Regions from separate parts of the Homo sapiens genome. Here all the other regions are linked to region 1. Evidence: promoter capture Hi-C in 16 types of primary human blood cells and fetal thymus (Javierre and others, 2016). All regions are on one chromosome and are shown on one strand. The core of a region is centred on a gene start or on the middle of the fragment in contact, and the rest is flanking DNA. Distances in the headings are between cores, read along the strand shown. Region 1 holds the start of AGTRAP (angiotensin II receptor associated protein). Region 2 holds the start of TARDBP (TAR DNA binding protein). Region 3 overlaps EXOSC10 (exosome component 10). Region 4 holds the start of ANGPTL7 (angiopoietin like 7). Region 5 overlaps MTOR (mechanistic target of rapamycin kinase).

Evidence for each region. The method cuts DNA at HindIII sites, captures the fragments that hold promoters and counts their contacts. A CHiCAGO score of 5 or more calls a contact.
Region 2: a contact is called between the fragment with the promoter of TARDBP here and the fragment with the promoter of AGTRAP in region 1, in 2 of 17 cell types (naive CD4 T cells and total B cells). The highest score is 7.2, in naive CD4 T cells.
Region 3: a fragment that was not itself captured here is called in contact with the fragment with the promoter of AGTRAP in region 1 in 6 of 17 cell types (fetal thymus, erythroblasts, total CD8 T cells and 3 more); the score reaches 8.2 in fetal thymus.
Region 4: a fragment that was not itself captured here is called in contact with the fragment with the promoter of AGTRAP in region 1 in 1 of 17 cell types (endothelial precursors); the score reaches 5.1 in endothelial precursors.
Region 5: a fragment that was not itself captured here is called in contact with the fragment with the promoter of AGTRAP in region 1 in 1 of 17 cell types (total CD4 T cells); the score reaches 5.4 in total CD4 T cells.

Annotation. Positions count from the first base shown.
Region 1 is chr1:11,734,850-11,737,443 of GRCh38, reverse strand. It overlaps AGTRAP (angiotensin II receptor associated protein), which reads right to left and starts at 1,308. Exons shown (of 5, transcript NM_020350.5): 1 at 1,209-1,308. The coding sequence starts at 1,235. The HindIII fragment of the contact is 3,809 bases long and covers 204-2,594 here.
Region 2 is chr1:11,011,379-11,013,972 of GRCh38, reverse strand. TARDBP (TAR DNA binding protein) reads right to left here and starts at 1,319. Exons shown (of 6, transcript NM_007375.4): 1 at 1,230-1,319; 2 at 8-257. The coding sequence starts at 245. RefSeq lists silencers at 1-247, 1,657-1,886 and enhancers at 609-1,576, 1,287-1,616. The HindIII fragment of the contact is 20,579 bases long and covers 1-2,594 here.
Region 3 is chr1:11,095,691-11,098,284 of GRCh38, reverse strand. EXOSC10 (exosome component 10) reads left to right here. Exons shown (of 25, transcript NM_001001998.3): 2 at 129-265; 3 at 2,404-2,527. Among named protein-coding and RNA genes, the nearest start is that of EXOSC10-AS1, 2.7 kb to the left of the region's middle. The HindIII fragment of the contact is 3,359 bases long and covers 1-2,594 here.
Region 4 is chr1:11,188,881-11,191,474 of GRCh38, reverse strand. The region is part of intron 28 of MTOR (mechanistic target of rapamycin kinase); the gene reads left to right. It overlaps ANGPTL7 (angiopoietin like 7), which reads right to left and starts at 2,120. Exons shown (of 5, transcript NM_021146.4): 1 at 1,520-2,120. The coding sequence starts at 1,895. RefSeq lists an enhancer at 1,267-1,767. The HindIII fragment of the contact is 1,518 bases long and covers 549-2,066 here.
Region 5 is chr1:11,213,268-11,215,861 of GRCh38, reverse strand. MTOR (mechanistic target of rapamycin kinase) reads left to right here. Exons shown (of 58, transcript NM_004958.4): 21 at 2,296-2,463. Among named protein-coding and RNA genes, the nearest start is that of ANGPTL7, 25 kb to the right of the region's middle. The HindIII fragment of the contact is 3,623 bases long and covers 1-2,594 here.

The DNA of each region.
Region 1 (2,594 bases), core at 59-2,558:
ATCCTCTGTCAGCAATTATTTTAAGCAAATCCCTCATCAGAGAAAAGGCAGTTGGTGTTAACCCCACATTGCCTGGAATAGAGTGCATATTGATACCAACAAGCCTCGGCTGCTGTCACGTAAATTTCTTCCCAGCTGAACGTTCCATCCAAGCCCATTCCCTTGCTCCAGCCATGTCTCCCCACCACCTTTGACTGGAAGCTTCAGGAAGGTTTGCTGAAGCAAGTATGATTAAGAAGGGAAACATGCCTATAGCAAGTCATAGCACAGATGTTGTGTAATAATAAAGTGTATTAAGCCATTGTTTTGTAACCATCTATTTCTCAGGTTCCTTTAGTCCCAGACACCAACAGGGAGCTAAATGCTCTGTCATTCATGAGTAAGAGGACATTCCTGGATATTGCCTCAAAGGAGGCTGCACTAAGACCCAAAATGGCCGGTTTGGTCCAAGGTCCACACCTTCCTGACCAAAACTACAGCCCCTAGCCCCTCTAATGCAAATGGAGCCCAGACACGTGGGCGGCGGGGCTGGGCGGGGAGAAAAAGAACAGCCGCTGGCACCCAGACCCGGACTGAGCTCACGGCTCGGGAAATGAAGACACCACAGGAAGCCCTGCAGTGTTTTCCCCAGTGCACAAAGTTGGGGTTTTCTGCTTTTAAGTAATTTCTGTTGGAGTTCGCGCTTCTTGATTATGAAATAAGGGCGCTGGATGTGTAAACTTTATAAAACCAACTGCTTGGGAACATCTGATTTCCTTAACCCGACTTAGCAAACAAGGAGGCTCCTGAAACGGTGCTGGGACCCGGGGGGCAAGCCCAGTCCCTGACCCCGCGCGGGGGAGGTGAGCCGCCTACAAGCCCCTCCCGCGCACCTTCCTCCTCCTCCAGGGGAATTCTGGGCGTGCAGGCAACAGCAATGCTGGGACCGGCGCTGCCCGCTGGGAGGGTCTGAGTCCGGGAGGGGGCGGCCCTTGCCCTCCGCTGCCACCTCCCACGGCCCCTCAGTGTCGCCCTGCTGGCCTGTGCCTGGATCACTCTCCCTGCTGTGGCCTGCCTGCCCATCTCCTTCTTGCGTGGGGTCTGTACCTTCCCTTCCTCCCTACCATCCCTCTTTCCCCAAAACTCCGGTCCTTCCTCCCACCTTCCGGGAAAATGCAAATGTCCCACTTCCTCCCGCAAAGGGGACCCTCCCCCCAGCCCGTCGCCACCTTCAGGTTCACAGCAGGCAGCTCCATCCCGACTCAGGCCGAGGGCACCTGCGCCGCAGCCGCGGGGGGCTCCTAGGCTCCGAACTCGGGGAACAAACTTGCCCGGCCCCGCCCCGCCCCGCCCGTTGCGGCCACTCCAACCCCAGCGCAGCTCAAGACCACGTGAAACGGGCTGGAGCGGGTCACGTGACCGCCGCTTGGTTGCTAGGAGACGGCGTCGGCAGCTCGCGCCTTCAGCCAAGCTCCAGACTCCCGCCACCGCCCAGGCAGTACTTGGGGGCCGCTGGCGAAAGTTGGAGTTTCTGTCGCCCAGGGCGTATCCTGCCTGGCTAATATTCCAGGAAGCGGACTGTTCGGACTGCCTGCAGCCAGGACAACTGGGGGACCGTCCAGGCGCAAAGTGCTGATGTGGCAACAGCTTGTGTCTCATCCTTGGGGGCACCCTCTCTCCTTCCCACTTCCCTGTGTAAATGGGCTATTTAGGCTACCTACCTCATATGATCCTTATGAGGATTAAATGAGCTAACTGCTGTTGTTAAAGAAAACGTTATTGGGACTGTTGTTAAACCAGTACTGTTCAAGACTTGCTGTAGGGTTATTGCCATGGAGTGAGAGTTTGGGCTCAACACCGAATACAACAAGGACCAAGGAGGGATTTATAGCCAGAGCAGAATGAGGGAGCAGGAATGGAAGATTCCTAGGAGGAGACATCAAGGATGGGGGAGTTCTTGCTAACTTAGCAGGACTCTTGCTGAAACTGGTTTATTATGCAGGCTCAGGCCCAGCAAGGACAGGAAGACACAGAGGTCCAAGGCCGAGGCCTAGTCAAGATGAGGACTCAGAGGAGTCTAACTACGGTTTGTTCTAGGAGAGAACAGTGCCCGGCACTTAGTAAATGGGCAGGACACACAAGCTATTGTTATTACCAACACAAGATGAGGCTGGGCGCAGTGGCTCACCCCTGTTATCCCAGCACTTTGGGAGGCCAAGGAGGGTGGATCACCTGAACTCAGTAGTTCGAGACCAGCCTGGCCAACATGGTGAAACCCCGTCTCTACTAAAAATACCAAAATTAGCAGGGCATGGTGGTGTGCACCTGCAGTCCCAGCTACTCAGGAGGCTGAGGCACGAGAATTGCTTGAACCGGGGAGGCTGCAGTGAGCCGAGATCACGCCACTACACTCCAGCCTGGACGACAGGGTGAGACCTTGTCTGGGAAAAACAAACAAACAAAAAGCAACACCTGAGGAGCCAAATTGGTGGGAGCCCACTTTAATCAGCATACCAAAAGTTTTAGAAAACTCTAGCTGAAAAACCATAAGAAATTCCTCCCCCAATTGTACATGAGGAAAGAAAGGGCTGTCTCCTGCCTCACCTGGCACCTCC
Region 2 (2,594 bases), core at 70-2,569, 720 kb after region 1:
AACAAACCTTTTGGATAGTTGACAACATACACCAGATTTCCCCAGCCAGCATCTGGGGCATGCAGAATTCCTTCTACCAGCCGGACACCTCTCATACACTGAGACACTGGATTCCTGTAGCGAAGCCCACACGCCCCTGGAAACTGGGCTGTAACCGTGGAGAGCAGCACCGTCCCATCGTCTTCCGATGGTATTTCAATGGGCTCATCGTTCTCATCTTCGGTTACCCGAATATATTCAGACATCTTTTACTTTTCCTAAAGAGAAAAGAGATATGAATGAACAACATTCATGTCAGAATAACTGTTTCCTTATAATGATAATACCCAAACCATGTCAGAGTTCTGACTTCCAGAAAAATGCTTGTCTGGATTCGTATATGCATTGGTTATCCCTGAAAAATGACGAGGTGAAGGTAAGGGTAGTGATTTCCTATCAAAATGTGATGCCTCGCCAGTTCATTCATTCAAAAAACTTTCCCTGAAGGCTTATGATGCGTCAGGTACTGAAACTGTAACTGTGAGTCCAACGTGGCTTGCTGGTTACAAGCTAGGGTATGCAAGGGAACAATAAACAGTAGCTATTTTATGACAATCGGGTTAGTCGTTAAGTAATCCTGAAGGCAGAGGAGGAGCCTAACTGGCTGAGGCATGGGCGTGATAGGTCCCAGTCGATTTTCCTAAGCAAGCGATCCATCAGCTGAACCTGAAGACTGAATATGGGCAGTGAACCAGGTGTAAAGAACAGGAGAAAAGTTTCCCTCTGTTCCTCATTTTGGGGCTTCCGGGGGCTCTGCGAGCCCGAGCCCCAAGGCCCGCGGCGACAGGTCCTGGCGGTGCCGGCCGTCGCCTCCCAGAAGCCCGCGCGTGCCAGCCGAGGGAGGAGTTTCTCGGCGCGGCCCGGGGTGGGGCGCAGGAGCACCAGGCCCAAGCTGGCAGCGTCCCTCGAAGTACAAAGTACCGAAGGCTCCGGCACTGTCCGGGTCCGGGGCCAACCTCCGCCTCAGGCTACGCGGCACCGCGGGCCCGGCCCCCCGTTTCGGCGCCACCGGCCTCCCCGTGCCAGGACCTAACGACGCTCCCGCGCGAGCCCGCTCGGGCAGGACTAGGCCCGGTCTCACGGCTGACTTCCCGGGGCAGGGTCCGAAGCCGCTGCGTCTGCCTCGGGCCGCCCCAATGCAGAAGCCGAGGCACCTACGGCGTCCTCAGTGAGAAGGCTCCGCGACTCACCCGCTAGGCCGCTGCTGGGAAGCCCGACAGGGACACCGAAGCAGCGACGGACCCAAGCGCAGCCCAGCCACCGCTTCGCTCCCACAAAATGGCGCTAGGGCCGCCTCCTCCCCCCGCCCACCGGCGTCCTCTCCCACCGGTTGCCTGTCCAGAGGTGGAAGGCACCGACGAGAGCCACGATGACCCTCTCCCCAGGGACTCGGGCTGCCTCCTGGAAATTCAAGCCTACAGAGAAGCTCTGAAAGCTAAAATAAAACCAGGACCTAGGCCTGAAAAGCTGAAGATTGAAAAAAGTGTGGCTGTATAGGAGCTGACCTCCCCCCACGTAACGTAGCAGATGGTTTCGGCCGACCAACCGCCGGCCCAGGTCTCGGTCGGAGCTCGCGCACTTTCAAAGCGCGCGAGAGTAGCACAGAGTCTCGGCCAGCGAGGGCGGGGCGGGGCGGGGCCTGGAGGGGGCGGGGCTCGGGATCCCGGGCCGAGTCCACCTGGGAGGCAGGATAAGGCCTGGACCCCTTTTCTGAAAGGCAACCTAGTGCGTCTTCTCCTCCCTCCGCCAGCCCACCTCCAAACCTGGAAACAATAACTTTGTTCTAAATAATAGCAATGATAAGGCTACTTTGTGCCAGGTACTTTCTGAGTATTCACATATTTAATAGCCCAAACAGTTTTGTGTAGCAGGAGCTATTGATATTCATTCTGCGGGTGAGGAAACTGAGGCACAGAGAGATCAAGTGTCTTGCTTAAAGTGACGCAAGGATTAGCCGGGCGGTAGTGGCGCGCGCCTGTAGTCCCATCTACTCGGGAGCCTGAAGCAGGAGAATTGCTTGAACGCGGTAGGCGGAGGTTGCGGTGAGCCGAGATCGCGCCACTTCACTCCAGTCTAGGCGACAGAGTGAGACCCTGTCCTCCAGCCCCTCCCCCCAAAAAAATGTCACCCAAGGAATAAATGGTAGACCTGGGATTTGAATCTCGAGGCACAAAATGCTAACTTGTTCTGGCTCCAGCCCTTTAATAATAATAATAATACAGTACTTCATCTATTTTAAGGCACACTTTTTGTTTCACTTTTTTTTTTTTTTTTTTTGAGACGGAGTCTCGCTCTTGTCCCCCAGGCTGGAGTGCAGTGGCGCAATCTGCAGCTCACTGCCACTTCCAACTCCTAGGTTCAAGGGATAGCTGGGATTATAGGCGTGCAAAGACACCATGCCCGGCTAATTTTTGTATTTTTAGTAGAGACAGGGTTTGGCCATGTTGGCCAGGCTGATCTCGAACTCATGGCCTCAAGTGATCCGCCTGCCTCAGCTCCCCAAAGTGCTGGGATTACAGGCACGAGCCACCTTTCTTTTCTATCTTTTCTTTCCT
Region 3 (2,594 bases), core at 27-2,526, 640 kb after region 1:
GGCACTAAATGAGTGCTTTTTTTGATGGATGAAGAGTAGATACCTTGTATACGATAGATCAAAAAAATGACATACCAAATGAATGGGGATCCCTGTGTAAACATGCCATCTTTTCTTGTTTTTGACAGTTTGCTCTTGGGTCCGTGGTGGCAGTCACCAAGGCATCTGGGGGCCTACCACAGTTTGGCGATGAGTATGATTTTTACCGAAGTTTTCCTGGCTTCCAAGCATTTTGCGAAACACAGGGAGACAGGTTGCTTCAGTGGTAAGTACTGTACTTTGTTTTCTTGTGTTAGTGAAAAGAAATGAAAACAAAGAAGTAGATAAATTTTTCCTGAAATTTATTTTTCCTTAAACATTTTCTGTGGTATGAAGAGCTATAAAATGTGAAAATTGAAGCAATGGATTTTGATTAGGGAAATATTACTTGGTATATTTTTAGTTTAGCCTTTAAAAAATGTATTGACTTTTGTACTGAAAAAATATATTGACTTTTGTACAAATCTTTTTTAATTAAATGGGACGTGAACACTTAGAGCCAAGATTCTTTTTTTTTTTTGAGACGGAGTCTCGCTCTATTGCCCAGGCTGGAGTGCGGTGGCATGATCTCGGCTCACTGCAAGCTCCGCCTCCCAGGTTCACGCTATTCTCCTGCCTCAGCCTCCTGAGTAGCTGGGACTACAGGTGCCCGTCAACACGCCCAGCTAATTTTTTGTATTTTTAGTAGAGACAGGGTTTCAACATGTTAGCCAGGATGGTCTCGATCTCCTGACCTCGTGATCCACCTGCCTCGGCCTCCCAAAGTGCTGGGATTACAGGCGTGAGCCACCGCGCCTTGCCAGATCCAAGATTCTTTCCCACAACTTGTAGAGTAGCAGGTATTTTTATTTTTATTTTTATTTTTTTTGAGATGGAGTCTCGCTCCATCACCCAGGCTGGAGTGCATTGGCTCAATCTCGGCTCACTGCAACCTGCGCCTCCCAGGTTCAAGCGATTCTCCTGCCTCAGCCTCCCGAGTAGCTGGGATTATAGGTGTACACCACCACGACCAGCTTTTTTTTTTTTGTTGGGGGGGAGTACGGAGTCTTGCTCTGTCGCCCAGGCTGAAGTGCAGTGGCGTGATCTCGGCTCGCAGCAACCTCCACCTCCCAAGATCAAGCGATTCTTGTGCCTCAGCCTCCCCAGTAGCTGGGATAACAGGCATGTACGACCATTCCCGGCTAATTTTTGTATTTTTAGTAGAGGAGGTTTCACCATGTTGGCCAGGCTGGTCTCGAACTCCTGACCTTGTGATCCACCCACCTCAGCCTCCCATAGTGTTGGGATTACAGGTATAAGCCACTGCGCCTAGCCAGTTTTTTGTATTTTTAGTAGAGATGGGGTTTCACCATGTTGGCCAGGCTGGTCTCGAAGTCGTGACCACTCCTGAAGTGCTAGGATTACAGGTGTGAGCCACTGCGCCCAGCTAGGGTGCAAGTTTTATTGGTTTCATCAAAAAGTATCAGGGGCCAGACATGGCGGCTCATGCCTGTAATCCTAGTGCTTTGGGAGGCAAAGGCAGAAGGATCGCTTGAGCCCAGGAGTTCAAGACCAGCCTGGGCAACGTAGGGAGACTCCATCCCTACAAAAAATTTTTAAAGTAGCTGGGAGTGGTGGTGCACCACTCCCAAGTCACAGCTACTTGGGAGGCTGAGGTGGGAGTATCACTTGAGCCCAGGAGTTCAAGGCTACAGGGAGCTGTGATTGTACTGCTGCATTCCAGCCTGGGTAACAGAGCAAGACCCTGTCTCTTTAAAAAAAAAAAAAAAAAAAAGAAAGAAAGAAAGAAAGAAAAAGGCTGGGCTCATGGCTCACACCTGTAATCCCAGAACTTTGGGAGGCCGAGGCAGGTGGATCACTTCAGGTCAAGAGTTCGAGACCAGCCTGGCCAACGTGGTGAAACGTCATCTTTACTAAAAATACAAAAATTAGCCAGACCTGGTGGCGTGTGCCCATAATCCCAGCTACTCAGGAGGCTGAGGCATGAGAATCGCTTGAATCCGGGAGTCGGAGGCAGGCAGATCACTTCGGGTCAGGAGTTCGAGAGCAGCCTGGCCAACATGGCAAAACCTCATCTTTACTAAAAATACAAAAATTAACCAGACCTGTTGGCATGTGCCTATAATCCCAGCTACTCAGGAGGCTGAGACACGAGAATCGCTTGAACCCGGGAGGTTGAGGTTGCAGAGAGCCAAGATCATGCCACTGAACTCCAGCCTGGGCAACAGAGCAAGACTGTCTCAAAAAAAAAAAAAAAGATGTGTTGGGAACAGTCTGAGCCACATCATTTGAACATTCTCTCTCACAGAATGTAAACAAGTGAAATAAAAATCTACAAGCTAACCTTGGTTTTCCTTTCCTTAGCATGAGCAGAGTAATGCAGTACCATGGGTGTCGCAGCAACATTAAGGATCGAAGTAAAGTGACTGAGCTGGAAGACAAGTTTGATTTACTAGTTGATGCCAATGATGTAATTCTGGAGAGAGTGGTGAGTATTTTCCCTTACTCTTTTTTTTGTTTTGTTTTGTTTTTGAGACGGAGTCTCGCTCTGTCGC
Region 4 (2,594 bases), core at 58-2,557, 550 kb after region 1:
TTCTTGGTGACCACTGCACTGGGACCTTAGAGAGGAGCACCAAGATGGCAGATGGGAGTTGTCTGAGGCACATAGGTTCTCTTGCAGAGCACCTTGGGAAAGGGAGGTAGAGTACGTGTGCCTTCGCCATCACTATTCTTCATTTCGTCTTAGTGGTGAAAGCACCAACTTACTGCTTCCTCTAAGGGACTACCTACTTATAGAATATAAGGGTAACTGAGCACTTGGTCATAGAGAAGAAAAATAAGGAATGATGTCCTGGGCAAGAAGAGCAAGAGACCTGGTGGGAGAGCTGCACTTGACCCCAAGAACCTCCTTGCAGGATGGTGAGAAAGCCTCCTGTTTGGATGAGCAGGAAGTGGCACGGTCAGATTCCTCTGTCTGGCCTGGTCTTCCGCATGTCTGGTTTCATCTCACAGACCAAATCAGGACTCACTTGTCTGGAAAATGGCCTGAGAATACCTTTCTAATCCCAAACTGAGGGCCCGGAAGTCCATGCTTAGAAAGTGATTGATACATGTTGGTTCAGGTAACAGAATTTTCAAGCTTGGTTTCATGTTAAAACTTTTTCTTAATTTGAGCTGAGGTTAACCATTGACTTAGTCAGTAGAAGCTGATCATGTCTTTGTTCTTCATGTAGTTTATAATGGGACCAATGGTTTTTATATCAGCAAGAAATGACATGTCTATAGGATATGCTCCTTACAACTAATATTTTCCTGATAATTTCAGAAAACCAAATTTTTATCTCTAAACCGTAAATTCATGTTGGCCCACCTGAGCTGAGCTAACCAGAAATAAAAGTTATTTTGCAAAAGAAAGATTAAATTTATCTTATTTTTGGCCTATTAAGTCTATATTTCAGCATTGCATTTAAAAAATCCTGTATTCGGAGAAATTCATTTAAGACCATGGAAAAAAATAGACGTATCACAATTGAGGAACCTTAAGGAGCCGCATCCTTCCTGAACACAAAGGGACTCTTCACATGGTTATGTGTCTCTACACTTAACTCTGAGCCAATGAGAAGAGTTACGTTTACAGAGAGAGGACACAAAATTCCATTAATGCTCATTCCTGGTAAATCTTAGGAACACCAGAGAACTGTTTCTGGCAAAACTTTGCTTCCAGAGGAACAGCTGTTACAGTTTGGTGCTTCCTTGGAATTTCTTGAGATATAGCCTGTCAGCTCTTGGTGAGGAAGTAGCAGAGCTACACCAATCAGGAAGACTTGAACCCTGCTTCTAAGACTTGCTGGGTGACTTTGGGCAAACCATGTAGTATCTCAGCACTCCAAGATGGTAGGCTGAAACACTGTGTGGATAAAAGAGACCCGTGAAGGTGTTAGGTAAACTTACATAGCATTAGAAGTCAAAGGAAATACTGCATAAGCCTTTACTAAAGGGAAAGTGTACCCACAAAAGAGGCCCCAGTAGTGGTTCTGATGACCAGGATATGTAGAAGCAGTGCTGTAGATGGGGAGGCACTCCACGCTCCCTCAGGGGACTGGTCTCCTTACCTGCGGAGGTCTGAGTGACCGTCTGTGCTGCCTGCAGCTGCATGATGTCAATTTGGTTGTTCATCTCGGAGTACTTGCTCTCAGCATCTGTGAGCCGCGACTCCATGCGCTTGCTGTTGCTCTCCAGCTCCATCACCTGCATGACCACGCTGACCCAGTCCCTCTCCTGCTTCTTGTTCAGTTCACTCAGCAGGCTGCTAAGGTTGGCAACTTGGGCCTTGAGCTCCTTCACCTCCTCACAGCAGTTGGCCGCTTTGAGCTGTGGCTGTGCTGGTGTCTTGTGCTTAGAGAGCTTCTGCAGCCACGCTGGGTGGCTGACAAAGGCCACGATGAAAATGCAGAGCCAGGTCACAGCTGAGAGAGGCTTTTTCAGCATCTTTTGTGGGTTTGGGTGAGGAAGGCTCTTCCTTCAGGGGAGTCTGGAGATGCCCAGCTGAGGTCTGCAAAGCTGCAGCAGGCTGACTGAACCTTACGCTTTCACTCTGAGGGCCTCGCCACTTTGTTGTTTTCTCTCTTTCCTTGCTCTTTGCTAGCCTTTCTCAAAGCTTGAGTCTCTGACAGGGGAGCTGAATGGGTAGCCTATAGCTTTCCTTCCAAGCCCGAATGCTCCACAAGTCAGCATCTTAAATATTGTTTGCTGCCTGTACCTCCACCCCTACCATGGCTGCACCAGGCTTTAGCCCCTCCCAGCTCATCTGGGAGGGTCAGGTGCCTGTTGGGTGAAGTCAGCGGCAACTTAGGCCAGAGGAGGGGAGGAGGGAGATGGGGCGAGTCTTTCTTTCCTTGCCTGTACAGTCTCTGGGCTAAGACAAGAGGACTGTGAATTTGTGTGTTTCCAGTTTCGCCTATTAGATTATGCCCCTGCCAGCCACTGGCTCAACTCTATCAGCAAGCAGGACAGGGTCAGAAGAATTTCCAAATTCCGTTCAAAAGGTTATATAACCATGGGGTGAGCGTAAGGTAGGCGAAAGAGACGCTACTCACCCAGGGAGGCCTGTTAATGTAATCCATGCTGTTTATATGAGGATCTGGTATATTTTGACATCCTGCTGAATATGCTTTTATCTAGGCTGAT
Region 5 (2,594 bases), core at 44-2,543, 520 kb after region 1:
TTACTTTAATATCACAAGGGTGCTTTTCTATTTTCATGAAAGCCCTCTTTGTTACTGCTCATAAACCATGAAGGGATTGGGTTTTCTTAGGGCTGTTAAATATGATGGACACGTGTTGGGCACCAAGGAACAAGGTGATGCTTTACCCTGCTACCTCCAAAACCATACATATCACCTTTTGACTGCAGTGGCACATGAGAAAAGGCTCAGGTTCCAGGATTTTATAACATGCATTAAGTAGGTGCCAGAAGACACCCCATGGGCAATATCATTTTTCCTTGTGTTCTATATAATTTAAATGTCTCTACGGGGAAGATTGCTTCACAGGGATGGCATGTCCTCAAAGAGTTGGAAGATTTCTGTTCTTTCACACCAGACCTTTGTAGTTAGTTTGGACTAAAATCAAAATGGCTGGACTATTTGATTTTAGCAGGACTAAAATCAAAATGGCTGGTTTCAAATGGAACTTCCCAGCACCTGGATCTCAGAACTGAAAACCTCCCTACATGTATAAATAATTAAAAGCTGCTCTATTCCCTGACTCTTACCACAGAAGCCTCTGTACAAGGAGGATTTAGGCAGAATGCTAAAGAGGCCGATGGCTAGTCTTAGTGGGAGGAGGGGCAAGGGAAGAAGCAGTGTCCTCATGGGAGGAGGATGAAGTAATCTGTGACTTAATCCCCCCAAGAAGGCTAAACAAGGATACAATATGACCATATTATAGTCATAACAGGTTGATGACCAAAACACAGGGAATTGAGGCAGGGAGCCTCACACCTGCAAAATACAGCTTTCATTTCATCCCAGATAGAGAAGGTGCAACGGGGGCTCTTCCTTTGACTGTTGATTCTGGGCATTTTAATGAGCTCCCCCGAGCCTGGGAAGAAAATAGTCTTTGTGAACAGTGATCCAGCTGACATCCCTTGGCAGGCTGCCTGACATCTTTGAGGTAGAGAAGCCCCTGTGAGGAGCTGATGATAATGCAGCTGGGAGGTAGGTTGGCCTTCTCTAAAGAAGGCAGAGTAGGGTTCAAGTGGATGAACATCAGACAGACTCTGGAGGCTGTGAAATCTGTGGTGTTTCTTTGGCAACACTTTTAACCTAGAAAACACAGCTTTTTCAGAGAGAATACTTCTCTCCAAGTAGAGAGAAAGGAAGTTTTACCAGCATCTTCTAGTATAGTTTTTGCTTTCTAAACCATTATGCTTTTAAAGATACCTTTTTAAATAAAAATACTATATCTTTTTATAAAGCCTTTCATCTGAGGAGTTATCCTTGTTGTTATGGACTTCTACTTTGAACTATTTAGAGGCTCCAAGAATATTAACATTCATGTGTTGCCATCATTAGTAGGGTTTCTATTATCATTAAATTTCCTACTCCAGAACTTTTAAAGATGGTGGTAGGCAGCTGTCTTTTTGAGTTGATAGAAATGATATCTTTTCCTGGAGTTAGAGGCTTGGACTAATTTGCTTTGCAGCACTGAGGCAGGATCTGTGGCCAGTTGGCCAAGTTTTTATTTTAGTAACTTGTGTGGAAAATAACCATGTGGGTGTAGAAAGGGGCTCATTTTGTGGCACTGTTCAGGCCTGATGGATAGATTTTTGGGAAGGGACAGATATCAGATGCTATCTATTAATAGCAAAATCTAAATCCAGAAAAGCCAGGAAATATTTGTAATACTGGAGTCACCCTCTGGTAGAGATCAGGTGATACCAAAGTAAGGTCCAAGTCCACCCTGGACCACTTCAGAGTTTTTTGAGTGACTTAGTCATCTGTTCATTCTAGAATATTCCAGATGCTCTGATTGATAGATTCTGGGGATACAGAGATAGGATACTTGTCCCTAAGTAGCCTACAGTCTAGAGGGAGGACAGCAAAGCAAAGGAAGTCTTACAACTGCTATCGCTATCAAAGGGAGTGCAAAGGACCCAAGTGGATCATGGAAGGAGAAGAAGAAAGCCTGCATGGGAGAAGTGAGGCTAGAGCCAGGTCTAGAAAGACAGACAGGGCTTAGCTGAGCAAGAAGTGGGATTCTAGGCAGAGGAAGCAGCATGAGCAAAGCCCAGAGGACTGAGGTAGCCTGGTGCATCTGGGGAAATGCAATTGAGTTTGTCCAGTGTAGCTGCAACATAGGACACAAGAAGGGCCCAGTGGGAGGAGGGGAGTGAGGAGTTGATCTCGGCGCAGACCATGCTCACTACAGTTTTGCTTTTCTGGCCATCTTGATTCCTTTGTTCATATATCATCAGAAAGGGACCTGACTCAGCTCCTCTGACTTTTCTCTCTTTGTAGGAATTCTGGGTCATGAACACCTCAATTCAGAGCACGATCATTCTTCTCATTGAGCAAATTGTGGTAGCTCTTGGGGGTGAATTTAAGCTCTACCTGCCCCAGCTGATCCCACACATGCTGCGTGTCTTCATGCATGACAACAGCCCAGGCCGCATTGTCTCTATCAAGGTGAGTAGCCTACGTCATCCTCCAGAGAGATTTTCTGATTTCCTCTGAGTCCCTGGGTGATCAGCTAAAAGCTGAGACCTCATTCTGAGTGACAGGTTGATGCCCATTCCATAAGACAGAATCCCAAGAAT